2 separate regions of the Homo sapiens genome follow, and region 2 is linked to region 1. The links are contacts of gene promoters, found by promoter capture Hi-C in human tissues and cell types (Jung and others, 2019). All regions are on one chromosome and are shown on one strand. Each heading gives the region's core, a stretch centred on a gene start or on the middle of the fragment in contact. The rest is flanking DNA. Distances are from core to core; before and after follow the strand shown. Region 1 holds the start of TENM4 (teneurin transmembrane protein 4). Region 2 overlaps TENM4 (teneurin transmembrane protein 4).

The links. Contacts are between HindIII fragments. The study calls those that stand out against the background at their distance.
Region 2: a contact is called between a fragment that was not itself captured here and the fragment with the promoter of TENM4 in region 1, in 1 of the 25 tissues and cell types used here (dorsolateral prefrontal cortex).

Annotation. Positions count from the first base shown.
Region 1 is chr11:79,434,369-79,442,279 of GRCh38, forward strand. It overlaps TENM4 (teneurin transmembrane protein 4), which reads right to left and starts at 6,662. Exons shown (of 34, transcript NM_001098816.3): 1 at 6,141-6,662. RefSeq lists silencers at 6,251-6,360, 6,621-6,790. The HindIII fragment of the contact is 13,466 bases long and covers 1,497-7,911 here.
Region 2 is chr11:79,249,630-79,257,540 of GRCh38, forward strand. The region is part of intron 2 of TENM4 (teneurin transmembrane protein 4); the gene reads right to left. Among named protein-coding and RNA genes, the nearest start is that of MIR708, 150 kb to the right of the region's middle. The HindIII fragment of the contact is 3,500 bases long and covers 1,301-4,800 here.

The sequences.
Region 1 (7,911 bases), core at 5,412-7,911:
AAGGCCTCTGAACCAAAGGGAAGGAGAAAGGTGGGAGGGGGAAATCCACAGCCTCAGCAAATGCTGAAGACACACACTCTTCTCGGAGGAACTATTTGTCATTCACCATGGAGCCAGCCCCACCTACAACGCTGAGGAACATATTTACATATTTCAACTCCATTGCTGGCTGAAGCACTCCAGAAAGTGATGATTCCAAGAGCCAGGGAAGAAAAATGTTCTTGGAAAAAGAATTTGTGTATCAGTTCAGCAGAACAGCTCAAAATTATGCAAATTCCCTGCTTGAAGTTTGACTGTCACCCCTGCCTTCTTCTACCACCTGGGCTTCCAAGCCTGTAAGGGACTGCAAAATAAATAGCCATATTCTGGTTAAAAAGATGAAAGAGACATCATGGTTTACCTAACTGCTTTTCATGTGTGACAGAAGCTTTAGTATGGTATCTGCCTTTAACCCTGAAATGCTACTTTCTAGGAATTCATCTTAAGGAAATACTAAAACTACACAGTATGTACAAGGATGGTTACTACAGTCTTGTTATGATAATAAAAAAAAATAAACACAAAGTCAAAAAATTAGGTACTCATTAAATTATATCTGTCATACTATAACATTGGGGGTCTATGTAGCATTACAAATGTCACCGTAGGAGGAAAAGAGAGCATGAAAAGTTTTGCATGCTTTATCATTAGATGAAAATAAGCATTCAAAACACTATACTAGGATCTCATCATTTTTTCTACATTCATAAAGTCACAAGGTACAACCCAAAATGTGGTGGAACATTTTGGCTTTGCTTTTCTCTGTAATGCCTGAATTTGCTACAGTGAGCACATATTACTTTGGTCATTAGAATAAAGACTGTAAAAGAAAAAAAAAGTAATAAATATATAACCCCGGAAGCAATAGGCACATATATCTACATGGCTTCATTAGACATTTTCCATACAGAGAACATTCAGGGATCCATGTTTGCTTGGCTCCCTGAGAACTGGGGCATATTACTTTCAAAGTGGCCCCCACAGCCCATCTGCCAGTGCAAAGCAAAGATGGAGTGATTCAGCTTTCAGTTACAATAAAAGCCAAGCTGATAGACCATGTAAGAAGGCAGGTAGAAATCGGCCCCTTAGATCTAGAATTGACATTGATTTACCCTGCTAGGCTCTTGGAATCAAATCTGCAAGGAGGTGATTTAAATCCTATTCTTCTTTTGTTTAACTTTTTAGATTAATGGATGTGGGAGAAGTTACTGGGACAGGAACTACAAAAGGTTTGGGCTGGGGCTGTGTAGCTGTTTGTTAGACCAGGACAGGGGCTGAGAACCCCGGGCGGAGACTTGCACCACTGGTGCTTATCAAGTCTCATTTTCCTTCAACCTCTAGCACAATTAGAGTGTGAGCTGGCATCTTAAATTGAGTCTTTTGCTTGTGTTGCCCAACAATCTTTAATTCCTAATCACCTTCTTTTCCCTTATTTGTAACTTTTGATTTGGAAATATCGGGTTATGTAACATGTCAATCTGCATGAGGATGCAACTCTGTCAGAAAAAGGGACTCAATGAAGCACAAATTCTAACAAAACTGGAAATGACTTTCCTAAGAAAAGAAAAGAAATTTTCATTTCACGCATTTGAAGCTGGTTTTAAATAGGCTGGATGCAAGGTTGGTGGTTCTTTCGGGGCTGTTGATTTCTCTGCCCAATCTCCACCCAACAAATGCAGGATGCTTCCTGGAAGGGGATAAGGAGGTAGAAAGGAACAAGCATCTGTGAAGGGACCACAGTATGCCAGAGGCCTTATCGATGTTAAAACTGACAGTGTTCAATAATATGAAAGATTTAAAAAGATGAGGAAATGTTCTAGGTTAAAAGAGTTTAAAGAGACATGAAAAGCTGAATGAACTCATAAGCCAGGATTTTCTATTGCTATAACGGACGTTATTGGGACAATTGGAAAAATCTGAATAAAGTTTATAGACTGGATCATAAAAAAAAACCCTGACAGTGTTGCAAACTAAGTAATATTGTGCCATTTTACAGGGGAGAGGACTGAAGCTCCAAAGACAATTTGCCTAAGGCCACAGAGCCATGATTCCAACCCAATAGTTAAGAGATTAAAGTCACATCCTATCACCTTACTCCCACAAAACCACAAAAGATTGAGGAGACTATACCAAATAGAATCAGATTCTATTGGAAGAGAGTCCGTGGGAACCCATTACTCTAACACCTAGCCTTCTACCTCATATTCCAGGTCACTCCACTCACTATAGAACTATCCTTTGATGGTTCTTGTTCAGACCAAGCACTAGTTCTGCCCGTTGGCATCCGCACTGGTCAAGGCCGGTCTATTAGGGTGGCTGATCCGCTTACCGCACCACTCTACCTCCACCCCCAAACAGAGGCCTTGATGAAAACAAGATGAGAGCAGAGGAAGAACCCAAGAACTCTTTCTAGAAAACCAAAGCTCTCCGTCCCTGATCCCTTCCCCCACCACAGAAGATGGCAATTCCACAAGCCTTCCGCACCCTGCCCTCCCCTCAGTTCAAGACACATGCTGGAAATAAAAGCTTCCCCGAATTAGCCCCCTAAAAGCACACAAACATCTATGCCCTAAGTCCTGGCTGAATATCTTGAGGACTTTCAGTTCCCCAAACATTTCCAAGGACCTACGGCACACAGGTGCCGCTAAAGGAGACACCCGTTCACTCCAGGCAATCAGCTCCAACAGGTCCAGTTCCACTAAGTGGAAGGGCTTCCCGTCAACACCCTCACCGGAGAAAACGGATTCCTCCTCAGCATTCCCTTATAACACCTGGAAAGGGGAAACCTGTTTTTTGTGCTATGTGTGACTTCGCTGCAAATCTCTCTGCTCCCCAACACATGCACACACACACACACAGGCGCGCAGAAAACTAGTTCCCACTGTCACCACCAGTGAAAACACCCCTCGTAACTTTGACGAGAAGGGCTCCCCCGCTGAAAGCCCAACTGCAGAGCGCCCGGAGCGCGCTGTGAGTCCGCAGGAACGCGGCCGGGCCGGGGACGGGAGAAAGGCGCGGCCGGGACCCTGCACTGTGCCGCGCGGCGCTTGCGGCTGGAACTTGGCCTGGAACGCGGTCTTCTCGGCTCCAGTTTCCCGCCCAGGCCCCGCCCACCCGGCCGCCCCGCTGGTTCGCACCGCTGCTCCGGCCACCGAGGAGCCCAAAGTTGGCGGCGTCCCGCGGACTCCGGCGGAGAGCGCGAGGGAGTCGCGGCCGACTCCTGTACCACGAAGACAACTGGAGGCCGGCGGGGGAGGCGGGCCACGAGGGGCTGGGGCGAGGGAGCTGGGATGCGCGGGCCCGGCTCGCCGGGAAACAGGTTGCCGCGGAGTCCCGTCCCCTCCCCCTCTGCGGTCCCCGCCGCGACCTGATTCCCGCCCTGCCCGGGGAGCTAACCCAGCCGCCTCCGGGGCGCCCTCCTTCTTCCTGGATTCCCACGGCTGGACCAGAGCCCCTCTGGCAGCCGGGTTAAAGGCTCCTTCAGCAAGGTCAAGGCGCGGCCGGCTGGCACCTGGGGATTTTTTTCCAGCCGAGCACTGGCTTTTCAATCGCATTGTTAAGGATCATGGCAGCGGCAGGAAATCCGAAGGGCCCCACAGGTCTGCGGGAGGGAGGATTTATTTTACAGCAAGGAACAGATTCAGACAGATCGGGGATTTCAGTGGGAGGGGACGAGAGGTTTCAGGACGCTGGAATGTGGCAAAAACAAAACACTCCCCACCCATGCACATCACCATCTCCTGACTGCGGGCTGGGGGGAAGGGAGTTCAGGGCCAATGTGTCCCAGACTTCAGCGTTCCCCACGGCTGTGTCAGGGCTGGGGTGGCTTATCCCCCTACAGACGAAAATCAAGATTTAAAAGCATACTCTTACTGTGGTTTCTCTATCAAAGCCCATCAACGTGATACACAGGCTGCGGCGCTGGAGGGAAGCGGCGAAACGGGGAGAATAAACGCAACAGAAGCAAACTGCTGTCTGCAGAGGCGAGAGGCGAAGGAACGGAAGCCATACCCGACCCCAGCCCCATCCCGTCCCCATCAGCGCCGGGCTAGCGCAGGAAACCAGGAATAGGTGTAGGTAAGGGTGGCAGCCCGGCAGAGCCAGCGTTCTACTCCCTCTAACCCCTCGCCAGCGTGGGCCTGGATGGCTGGGCTGCCTGGGCATCTCCAAGGGGGACCAGGCACCGCGGGCAGGTTTCTAAACACGTGAAGGGCACAGGGCTTGAAAGACAAGGAGGGGCGCCCAGGAAGGGCGGAAAAGAGGGGCTTTGGGGCTCCCCAGGACACCAAGTCAGTTTCTGAAAACGGCGTTCCCTGGAAGGCCTTCCAACACCTCCGAGGGAAGACTTGGAGCTCTGAAGACCCAATGAAACCTCAGTTCTGACTGACTCCTCCTCTGCGATCAATTCCGGATGCCCCCACTTAGTCCCTGCCTCGGTAACCGGTTCTTTGGGGACAGCAGCATCAGCACCCGACGCCCATCGCACAAGTGGGCGCCGTGGTGCGAGGCGTATCCTAGCTACCCAGGCCGGGGTGGGGGCGCCCCGGTACTTACACTCCCCAAGCAGGCAAACTTTCAGGCTTGTCTTTCGAGAACCGGGAGCTCGCATCACAGTTCCGGGTAATCACCGAGGCAGCTTATGTAATTGCCCGCGATGCCGCTCAGCAGATCTCTCTCCTTACTCGGCCTCAGAGCTCAGTACATGGGCACCCTCTTCCCCCCACCCCCCACCCCGGCGATTGGAATCCCGAGCTTGCCCCACCACCGCCTTCTACAAAGCAGCGGGGTGATCTCGTGTGCTACAAACACCAAGCCAGTATGCAGGTTCAGGCAAAACTCTGGCTGCCTCCCTGCGCCCCTTTCACTGCGTCGATGGTTTACAGATAACTGCATTTCTATAAACCCTCTCTCCACGGTTAGGGGGTGGGAGGGAGTTAGAGATCGGGTGGGGGCTTGGCGCGGTACTGTTGAGGGCTCTGCACCCAACTGAGCAGTAATACACTCATCCACATGGACGCGGGTGCATAAATCGCCTTAACATTTTGCCCTGAAAGCGGAGCCAATTTCCAAAGTTAAGGACCACGCAGCTGAATTTCCAGTACTTTCCAACCTCGCCTAGGCGGGGGCAGGCAGAGAAGGGGCGGGCAGCGGGCAGCTAACTCGCCCGACCCCCCCGCCAAGAAGGACTCACTAGGTGAACCCCCCGCCCTTCACCCAAGTAGTTGGTTGTGTATTCCTCGGTTGCGTGTGTGTGTCCACACACACACACACACACACACACACACGCCGCCCCACTACCTTCCAGTCTGCTCCTCCAATGTAACGACCGCATTTAAAAATGGCAATTAAAATGACTGAGGAGCTCGGTGATCACATTTCAACCCAGAGCACATTTCCCGAAGCTGGGGGTGAGAGTAGTCATACAGTCACACTCACACCCGGGAGCCCTCCAAGCGTCCATCTGGCGGCTGCAGCCTCAGTTGGCTCCTAGACGAACATCAATACCGCGGCCGGGCGCCCGGTGAGGAGAGGCGGGCGCCCCGCGGGTTGCAGAGGGCGAGGAGCTGGGGTCGCATCTCCAGGATCTGAGCTCCAACCACCGCCCGTGCGGGGCTGCTGCAGCCGGCACTTGCCCCGCAGGGCAGGCTGCAGCCGCTGAAGCCCGGCGCCGCCTCGCGGGCTCCTCCAGCGCCCGACGGGGGCCTGGGGCGAGCTAGTCTGCAGAGGGGCTGCAGGCGACCGGGCCGGGGCGGGGAACGGGATCCGGGAGAGGCAGACGAACCTGGGGCGCGCCGCCTCCCTCCCACCCGCTTCCCACCTCCCTGCCCTCCCCCAACCCTTGCTCCCAGGCTCCAGTCCGCGGCGGGCTCCGGGGGCTGCGGCGGCTCCAGGCTCCAGAACAGCTTGCCTCTTCGGCCACCCGCGCCCTAGCCTCCCTCCTCCTGGGCCAGGGGAGCAAGCAAACATCTCCCGGAGCCCTCGGCAGCCGCGTGAGCTACCCGAACCCTGCCCGGGCCAGCAGTGCAGAGGGCGATGGAGCTGGCGAGGCGTCGCCGCGGTCCCCAAGGCGCTTTTCCGTAGAGCGGATCACGCCGCCTTACCGTGGCTGCAGGCTGCTACCGCCGGGGAAGCGGCGAGGACGGCGGCAGGGAGGCAAGGCGCCGCGCCGGTGGCTCCTCTCTCTCTCGGCGGCGCGGCTCCTCTGCTCCGCGAGCCGTAGCGGGGCGCCCAGGAAGGAGCAGGTCCGGGCTCTGCGCTCAGCTCCAGCGAGACCAACAATAGCTCCCGCGGGGAGCGGAGCCCCAGCGAGCCTCCAGCCGCGCGCGCACGACCGGCTCCCGCTCCCGGCCGCTCCCGGCCGGCGTCCCTGCCAGCACTGCTGCCCCACATGAAACAGCTGCAATCCCGAGGCTTCTGGGGGGTTGGGGCGGGTGTGTGCGCGCGCGTGTGTGAGTGTGTGTGTGTGTGTGTGTGTTTAATAGCTTCCCTTCTCTTCTTCCCCTCCCTGCCTGCTCGCCTGCCTGCCTCCGTCCCCCACCCTCGCTCTCTTACACACAGAAAGAGAGGGCGAGCGAGAGAGAGACACACACACACACGCACACGCACACGCAGGTTACATGAATGGGAGGCGGTAGCCAATCCTACGAGGCCGGCGAGCCGCGCGGCGCACTGGCGCTGGGAGCAGGGCCGCACTCCGGCGCGGGGGGGCGCCACGCAGGTGATGGGCGCCTCTCCGGGGGCCACGCGCGGCCGCTCCCTCACCCCAGTCTCGGTTCCTCTGTCTCCTTCCCCCTTCCTCTCCGCCGCCTTCTCCATCTTCTCTCCTTTTACCTCCTTTGCTTTCTCGAGTTCTCCGAGCTCTCTCAGTTCGGTATCTTTCTGGTCTCTTTCTTCTTTTACCCTCCTTGCTTGCTTTCTCTTCCCCTTTCTGAAACTTTCTCTTTTCCTTTCTGGACTTTCTTGTACTTCCTCTCCTCTTGCCTTTTGTTCTTTCCTCCTCCTTTGGCTTTCTCTCCAGGCTCCCCGTAGCACGGTCTCGTCCCCTCTCCCTCCTCTTCGCCTTTCCCTGGGTCTCTCTGGCGCCCAGGGCCTCCCTTCTGCCTGCTCGCTGGATGTTACTCCACACCCCCCACCCCAACACTTTTCTAGGGACGGTCTCTTTCAAGTTGCTACTGCAGCACAATCAGAGTAATTAAGAGCTGAGATCTTGAGTTCCTTCTTCAGGCATGCAAGATGCCCAAAGAAAGGCCCTCCTTCCTCGGACAACTTCCCCAAAACCATGGTAACAGCTACTGAGTCGTGATAACAATCACTTAAAAAATAGCAGTGATTGCGGTCCAAGAGATTTCTGTCCCTCGAATGTTTGGATCGTGATGGCAAGCACATTTCCAAGAGAAGGGCATTTTTATGTGATGAGAGCGGTAGTTTGACTGAGTGGCAACTTGGAAGGGCTTTGGGGAAGAGACTGGAGGAATTCCCACTCCAGCCCTGCTGCCTGCTGGCTAAAGGACTTAGTGCGAGCCATTTCCCCTTACCCGGCTTCAGTTTTCTCATCTATAAAATGGATGATACCGACTTCACCAGTTTTGGTGAGGATTAAAAGAGAGAACAATGGAAAGAAAGCACTGGGTGTATATGAGATGCTTAATTTATGTTAGTTTCCTTCTTTAAGACAACTTCCTTCATGATCTTCTGCTACAGTGTGTCTCTCTGATCTAAAGTAGTCAATGAAGGAGGAAATGTGACAATGCTAATTTCACATAAATGTGAAAGGAGGGGTAGGCTATTTTGAAAACTCTTCTGTGTGGTGAGGAGACTGTCTAGCCAGTTGCCATATGCTGATTATAAAGGCATCACAGATTATAAACGTGG
Region 2 (7,911 bases), core at 1,801-4,300, 190 kb before region 1:
TGAGAAATACTACACCAACTCCTTTACTTTCTCTATACACAATGTTAATAAGCTGGTCATTTAAAACCAGACACTTGGATTTGAATTCCAGATCTGTCACTCCCTAGCTATGTGGCCTTGGGATTTATCTAACAACTCTCTGCTGGTTTCCCCATATTTAAAATAGGAGCAATCTCAGGAAGTTTTGAAGATTAAGTCAGAAGATGTATGTCAGGTGACTATTCCAGTAACTGGCACCAAATAGGAGCTGAACAGGCAATTTCTATGAGCAGTAGTGGCGGCATTACTCATTTATTACGTAAACTTTTATTGTGCATCAGTGATTCCCAGCACACTGCCTATTTGTGCCCTGCACTAATTTTCTTTTCTTTTTTTAGATGGAGTCTTGCTCTGTTGCCCAGGCTGGAGTGCAATGGCGTGATCTCAGCTCACTTCAACCTCTGTCTCCCCTGTTCAAGCAACTCTCCTGCCTCAGCCTCTTGAGTAGCTGGGATTACAGGTGAGCACCACCATGCCCGGCTGATTTTTTGTATTTTTAGTAGAGACAGGTTTTCACCATGTTGGCCAGGCTGGTCTCAAACTTCTGGTCTCAAGTGATCTGCCTGCCTCAGTCTCCCAAAGTGCTGGGATTACAGGCGTGAGCCACCACGCCTGGCCGGCACTAATTTTCTTTTAACAGAGTGCCTAGAAATTCAATTGTGAGGCTAAATGAGATAATCCACATATAAGGCAAAGCAGGATGCCAGGCTCAGGTCAGGCATAGGTAGGAAGTGGCAGAGCTAGAATTTGAACACACATCTAGTGACTTTGAATCCTGCACCTGGGAATGATTAGACTGAAGGCATTTGTCCCAAATGGGGAAGAAAGCCACACATTCTCAATCACTGAAGGCCAACCCCACTGTTCTATGCACCTTTTTAAGAAAATATTTCAAAAGTTCTGCTGTAACTTTTGCTATTCTAATGGAGGATGCCTGGTTTCCAGGCCTTAAAAAAAGGAGCGATCCTAGCAAATATTGCCTTCTATTAACCCAACATTAGACACAATTCAATGTCTTAATGGCATTTATAATCATCCCATGCTTCTAGTTAAAAATTAATAATTGAAATTCTGATGATCACAGATGTCCACGGAAGGCAAATTTAGACAACAACTTGCTAGGCGAAGCTTAAACTTTCAATTGCTTTTTAAATCAAATAGGTGTCTGGCTATACAATTACTTCACAAACATGCATTTCTTTGGGCTGTATCCTTGAAAGAGGTTTAAAATGAAAGGATCCACTAGTGGTGCTTCAAGAAGCTATAAGTGTTGAACTTCTGTTTCTGGCAACATAGTAGACTGGTTTTATGGATCTCTCTTCCCACCAAAACTATATAGAAATGTGGTTCAAAATGAATTGGGAAAAAAAGCAATTAAGAAACATTTAACCAAAGCTTTAAGTGAAAGAGCTGAAGACATAGTAGGCCAGAAGTATATGAGACACAGGCACACGTCTTAATAGCTAGAGGCTAGAGTTTTAACATCCACGTGGGGGAAAAAAGATGTAGCTCTGGGCCATGTGAGGCAGAGTTGAAACTAAGCTCTGACACCCTGAATAAGGTCTGGACCTTGGAAGGGTTTCCTCCCTCCATGTATGAGATGTTTGCCCATCCAGCTGCATAGGAAACCAAGAAGCTTCATTCTGCTCAGGGCTTTGGACAGAAAAATAAATAGCCTATGATGTATAAAAACTCAAACCTGCACCACATGCAAGCATGAAGTTCAAATTTATATCACCCGTGGGTTGCTAAAATCCTAAACCAAGAAATTAATGTAAAAACTGTCCTAGGACAAGTAGGACCTCTAAGTTGCTTGCTCAAATCAGGCACGAAATAGCTCTTTAGACTCTGTAGGGTCACTTTTATCACCTTGAATGCAGGGAAATCCCACTGGAAAAATAAAACAATATCACAAACTACATCACCTGAAAATGAGATTACAAAAAAATTAGAAATCACCCAAGAAAACACTCTACCAGCAGAGCAACAAGAAGGTTTGACACCCTTGACATACTAAAATACTCTGATAGATTATACATGTATTTAAATTACTAAAAAGATAAAGGAATAAAAATCATGTTAAAATAATAAAATTATGAGAAAATATAAGCTTGAAAAATAAGCAAATAAAACTCGAAAAAATGAAAAAAAAACATTATCACTAAAATTAAAATTCAGAAGCTGAATGAAACAGCAGATTAAGTACAGCTAAAGAGATATTTAGTAAAATAAAAAATAGACTTGAGGAAATTTCCCATAATGCAGCACAGGGAACTAGATGGAAAATATGACTGATCTGTCAAAACAAAAGAGGGCAAATCAGAAGATCTAACATACAACTAATGGAAATTTCAAAAGGAGAAAATGAGGGAGAGGAAACAAAACTATGGAATAAAAAGGGCAAAGAAAAAATTGTAAAAGCTCTCGGAGTGTTGGTTTTCTTTTGCTTTCTGAAGGTGGCCAATCTTTGGAAGGCTGAGGAATTATGAAATAAACAGAATCTGTGAATTGAAAGCAGCACACGGTTTAACAGTCATCCCTGGGGAAAAGGATGCTGCGAAGAAGTTCTCTCTTTTTCTTTTTTGAGACTGAGTCTTGCTCTGTCGCCCAGGCTGGAGTGCAGTGGCGCGATCTTGGCTCACTGCAAGCTCTGCCTCCCGCGTTCACGCCATTCTCCTGCTTCAGCCTTCCGAGTAGCTGGGATTACAGGCGCTCACCACCACACCCGGCTAATTTTTCTTTTTTTGTTAAGTAGAGATGGGGTTTCACTATGTTGATCAGGCTGGCCTCGAACTCCTGACCTCGTGATCCGCCCGCCTCGGCCTCCCAAAGTGCTGGGATTACAGGCGTGAGCCACTGCGCCTGGCTGAAGCAGTTCTACTCTCTAGTTTGTCGGCCAGAAAACTAGGGCAACTACTGGGTGCTGTGAACTATCTATAGTGGAAGATTGAATCATTGCTCCTAATTCTTCACCCTTCTCCTCGTGCCCTTTGCCCTGGACTTTTCAGTACTTCCTACTACAGGTGGAGTGCATTTCCCTACCCACTAGGGAGCTTGACCTCTCCCTTCTGCTGCCATGAAAAGAATGTGCCCCAGCTCTCCTGTGGGTCCAAGGAGGATGAGAGACTCATGGAGCAGACCCGGATCCACCTGCTGATTGGAGTTAAACCCCCCAGAGCCCAGTTTAGATCAGCTGACCCCAGCTCACTCCCAGACAGACGAGTAAGAGTCAATGATTGTTTTAAGCTACTGAATTTTCAAGTGGCTTGTTAATGCAGCATGATTGTGACAGTACAGTTGCTTAATACATATATTATATCAACAGATTTTAGAATTCTGAGATAGACATTGTTACCTCCATTTTACGGTGAAGAAAAGACAAAGGCTCCAAGAAGGAATGCAACTTACCCAGTGTCACACGAAAGTAAACTCAACAACTAAGGCTTATTCTGTCTGTGAAGCCCCAACTTTTAACTTCTGTACCAAATTGCTTCTCAGCAAATGCTTGTTGGATTAATGGATGAACAGACAAAGGAATAACAGCCCATCCACTGGGGCCAAAAACATAAACTGCACTCACTCAAACTCACACTCAGGGCCTGACCACCGTAAGGCCTGAGCAAACTCATCAATGTTCCCAAAGAGGCTATTTTCCTTTTATGAGGTGTCTGCTGCACAAAGAGCTTGCCGGGAAAACAAATCCCCTTCATGCCAGGAAACAAACAAACACTGCACTGGAGTGGAAAATAATCGCAGCCTGTCAGACTCCTTGGCATGCTGATGATCTTCATGGTCCAGCAGATGATGTCAAGGATGTGACCTCCGGAGGCTCACAATAGGCAGTCGAGGAAGCCCTCATCTAAATGGATGACACAGAGTCCCACAGCTGATCCGCGTCTTAGTGCCTGGTACTTTAGCAGCTGCTGGGGAACTGTCTGATTGGTACAGCTTCTCCTCTGAACCGATGGGATCCTAAATAATTAATCGCCCTGTTTTCTGTGGGGTGGGAATGGGCAGACCGTCCAAGAGGCTACAGAGGTTTCCCTGTTTAAGTAAGAGAGGATGAAGACGTTTAGACCTTCATCCCTCCCCATTTGATTCAGAATCTCAAAATAAACTGAAATAAAATCGATGATGAACTTCTTTTGGTTTCATAAAAGTACCAAACTTATCTCCAATCCAGTAGAAAAAAATAGACAAAGAATATGAATATTCTATTTACAGAAGAACAAATACGAACAGCTAGTAAACATATGAAAAGACACTTGGTCACACTGATAGTTAAAGAAATGCAGATCAAAACAACAGTGAAATTACATTCTTTTCCCTATCAGGTTGGTGAAAATGGAAAAGCTTGATAATTTTCCAGTGTTTACCCACAGGAAAGGGGCATCCTCATATGCTGTCGATGGGAGTGTCCACTGGTGAAACTATTTTGTAGGTCAATTTGGCAATCAATACCTATCAAAATTTAAAACTTTTTGGCTCATTTATTCTATTATTAGAAATTTACTCTCCACTTACACCCATCCCCCAAAACATGCCAAGATAGGCATATGTCACAGCAAAAAACTAGAAAAACGTAAGTGTCTTTGAGCAGAGACTGAGGTAAACGATGTATGGCACATTCAACAATGGAAAAATATGCAGCAGTTAACAAGAGTAATTAGTTTTGTAAGGACTGATAGTGAAACACCTCCTAGGTACGTTGTCAAAGGGAAAACCCAAGAACAGAGGATAAATGGGCTCTTTGGTATAAATAAAATATGAGCCTACACTTTCTTTTACGGAAGAATAGCAGAAAACTCTTTTGCTGTGGCCACCCTTGGAGAGAGGCAGCTAAGGAGCTAAGACAAGTCACGCGTTCTTTTCTGACTTTCTGGACTCTGTACTTTCTGATCATGCACATCCAATTTTTTAAAGTCAACAGGAGTTACTGGGGCAATGAGATTAAAGGCCATTTTGTTTTCCTTACCCTTGCACACATCAAAAATCACTTATATTAAGTGCTGCAACTGACTATAATATTGTGTTAATATTATATAATGTGTTCAATGCCACGCTGGTGAGGTGAGAGTGGAGGAGAGTCACATACACAAGCAGCTGGTGTACAGGAAAGGATCTGGAAGGAAAGATAGTGTCAATCACCCCAGTGGGTTTATTTGACAAGCTTGAGTTGTTCTTCCCTGGGAATAATCAGAAAAATAAGAAACTGGGGCTTGGGAGGTGGAAGGAGACAGTGGAGGTCGGGTAGAATAGAAGCTTTTCCATGCATCCTTGAGAGCCATGGAGGGGACAAAGGAAAAGTCTTCCCAGTTCTGGAAGGGCGTCATATGCCTTGCAGATGATGGGAAGCCCAAAGTGAGAGGGTCCCACTGGGCTTGTGGGGGCATGGGCAGCAGCCCCGCTGGGTGACCAGAAAGGTCTGGAATTCACCGCAGAATTGGGGGCGTGGTGCAAATCTCCCCACAGTTAGGGAGGTTGAAGAGGAAAAATAAAGATGCCTATTTTTCCATCTCAAGTGTCCAAGTTTATTTTCCTGTGGGACTAAGCTGCAGAGTACAGGTGACCCCTCTGTCTCCTTTACACTCTGCACCCAGCATGGTGCCCAGTGCACAGAAGGACCTGTGTGTGAAATGCATGGGATGCTGACACAGTCTTTTCAGTCCGGCCTCTCATGTTCCTAACGCCTCCGTGTCTTACATAGATCCCTGCAAGCCTGCAGCCAGGTATCCTTTAGAGCCTAGAGTCGGCTGGCAGAAGATATTTATACATGCAAAGAAGCTCAAAGAACTCCTCTTGGAAAGCCTGACCTATTTCACCAGTTAGTGATATCTGAACAATAAAGATTCATTTGACTTTATTAGATCAAATGTAAAACTGAATTTAAAATTAATTAAAAATGACGGCATACAGCTCCTTACAAAAACACCTTTGATGTGCATTCAACACATTGAATAGCTAAAGTTAGGGAAGCCAATGAGTTTTCAATTATCCCAGCTACAGGCAGAAAGAGATAACATGGATAAAAGAAATCCACAGATAATCAAAATTAAAAATCCTTTATTCTTTCTTTCCATTTCAACTTTTGTCCCTAACACAATCTTGTTAAGACTCTAAGGAAAGCTCAGGTTTGTTCAATCTTCTCTTCTGTCCCTTTCTCTATTGAAGTAGAGATGTAAATAAGGTAAGAGAAAGTGGCCTGTCCTGAGAAAGCACTGTGTGTCAGAGCAGAGCTGGGCTGGACAGTCTTTGCTCCTCCAGCTCTTTTCTCTACCCTTCGCTGCCCTTTTCTGTGCCCCAGGAGGCTGAGCTTTTGGGGTGATATCAATGGAATTCTTTTCCCTTTGACTTCCGGTTAGGGTTAGGCTATTGGAGCCACCAGCCTCAGAGGACAGAAAAGAGAGAGGCTGGGTTGTTTATTCCCCCAACTCTTCCCTGCTAGGCTATAGTTGTTAGTAGTGGCTTCTTTCTTCTACCTAAGGCATGGCTGCTGTCCAGCATCTTCTCCTGTAGCCATAGCTCTCAGTAACTACTCCTGCCCTTTCCTATTTAGGCCTAGTGGGTAGTAACAGTTTCCTGGTGTTGCTAATCCTGGGGTGCTGCGCTATCTCACCGGCTTTCTGAAACCCTGCTCCTCTCTCAACCCTCCTCAGTTACTCCATTTGAGTGCCTATCAGTTCCCCACACTTGCCATGTATTGTAGCATTTCATGTCCTCATTTTCCAGGGAAGTGGAGAGGCTGAAAGAGGGTAACTGCTTTGCCTAAGGCCACATCACCAGGCACTGGCAGAACCAGAATCCCAAGCCAGGACTGCCCAGTGCCAAAGCTTGGAGATCTGACAACTCGATTTCACCAGTGGGAAACCAAAGCAATCAGTGAGAATCTGCAAAATGGTGTCACCTACAAGAGAACCATTTGAGTTTCCATCTCAGAGTTCAAAGGGTTCAGAGGCTGGATCTTTAAGACTGTCCATGTCAGGTTTGTCTGGACCTGTTAGGAATCCTGCTGTTTATCAATGACTTTGTCTCTTGGATTTTAACTTTTAAAGGTCCTGTCTCATTTGTGGCTCCTGGACTCTGAGCCTCACACAGGAGACTTTCAGATTTCAGGCTTTCATTGGGTGATAGGGCTTTCTGGGAATAGGGCTTGAGAGTGAGGTGGAAACTCAGTTACGTTACTAATCATGTCCTCATTCATCCATCCATCTGGTCACTGTGCAATTACTAAGGGCCTGTGGAGTGACCAAGATGAGCAAGACATAACAGATGGCTCCTCATCTAGTCAGGATCAGTGACAAAGTCTTCCTGTAGAAAGCAACCACTGAGCTGCAATTTAAAGGATAAGCAGGAGTGGGCATGTTGTGGATATGAGAGACAGAGCAGTGAATGAAGGAAGGCAGGAGCATTCCAGGCAGAAGAGGTGGCCTGAGCACAGGATGCATGCAGGTGGTAGGAGATGGGCTGGAGGGGCACATATGGACCAATCATGGTGGGCATTGTTCAGTGTACTAAGGAACTAGGCCTCAAGTATCAGACTGGGGCCCAAGGTCTGGGCCAGCCTAGTAGCCTCTCAATCTGAATGTTGTGTCCCAAAGGGTTGTTATGCCACTTCTTAAAGAATTAAAAAAAAATTTCCCAAACCTATTTAGAAGTAGAGATAATAGTTCAATGAACTCCTATAGACTCAGCATTCAGGATGCTGTTCCTTAATCACCTCCAGTTTCAGGTAAAGACTGAATCTAGTGCCAGGAGCTCACCAAGGCTGTGGTGCAAATGTCCTCAGCTAGAGGGAGAGGACACCAGCCAGAGGTGCTCCTTGAGCCTAATAGAAACAATGGCCAGCAAATACTGATCCACTTGCTTCTTTTC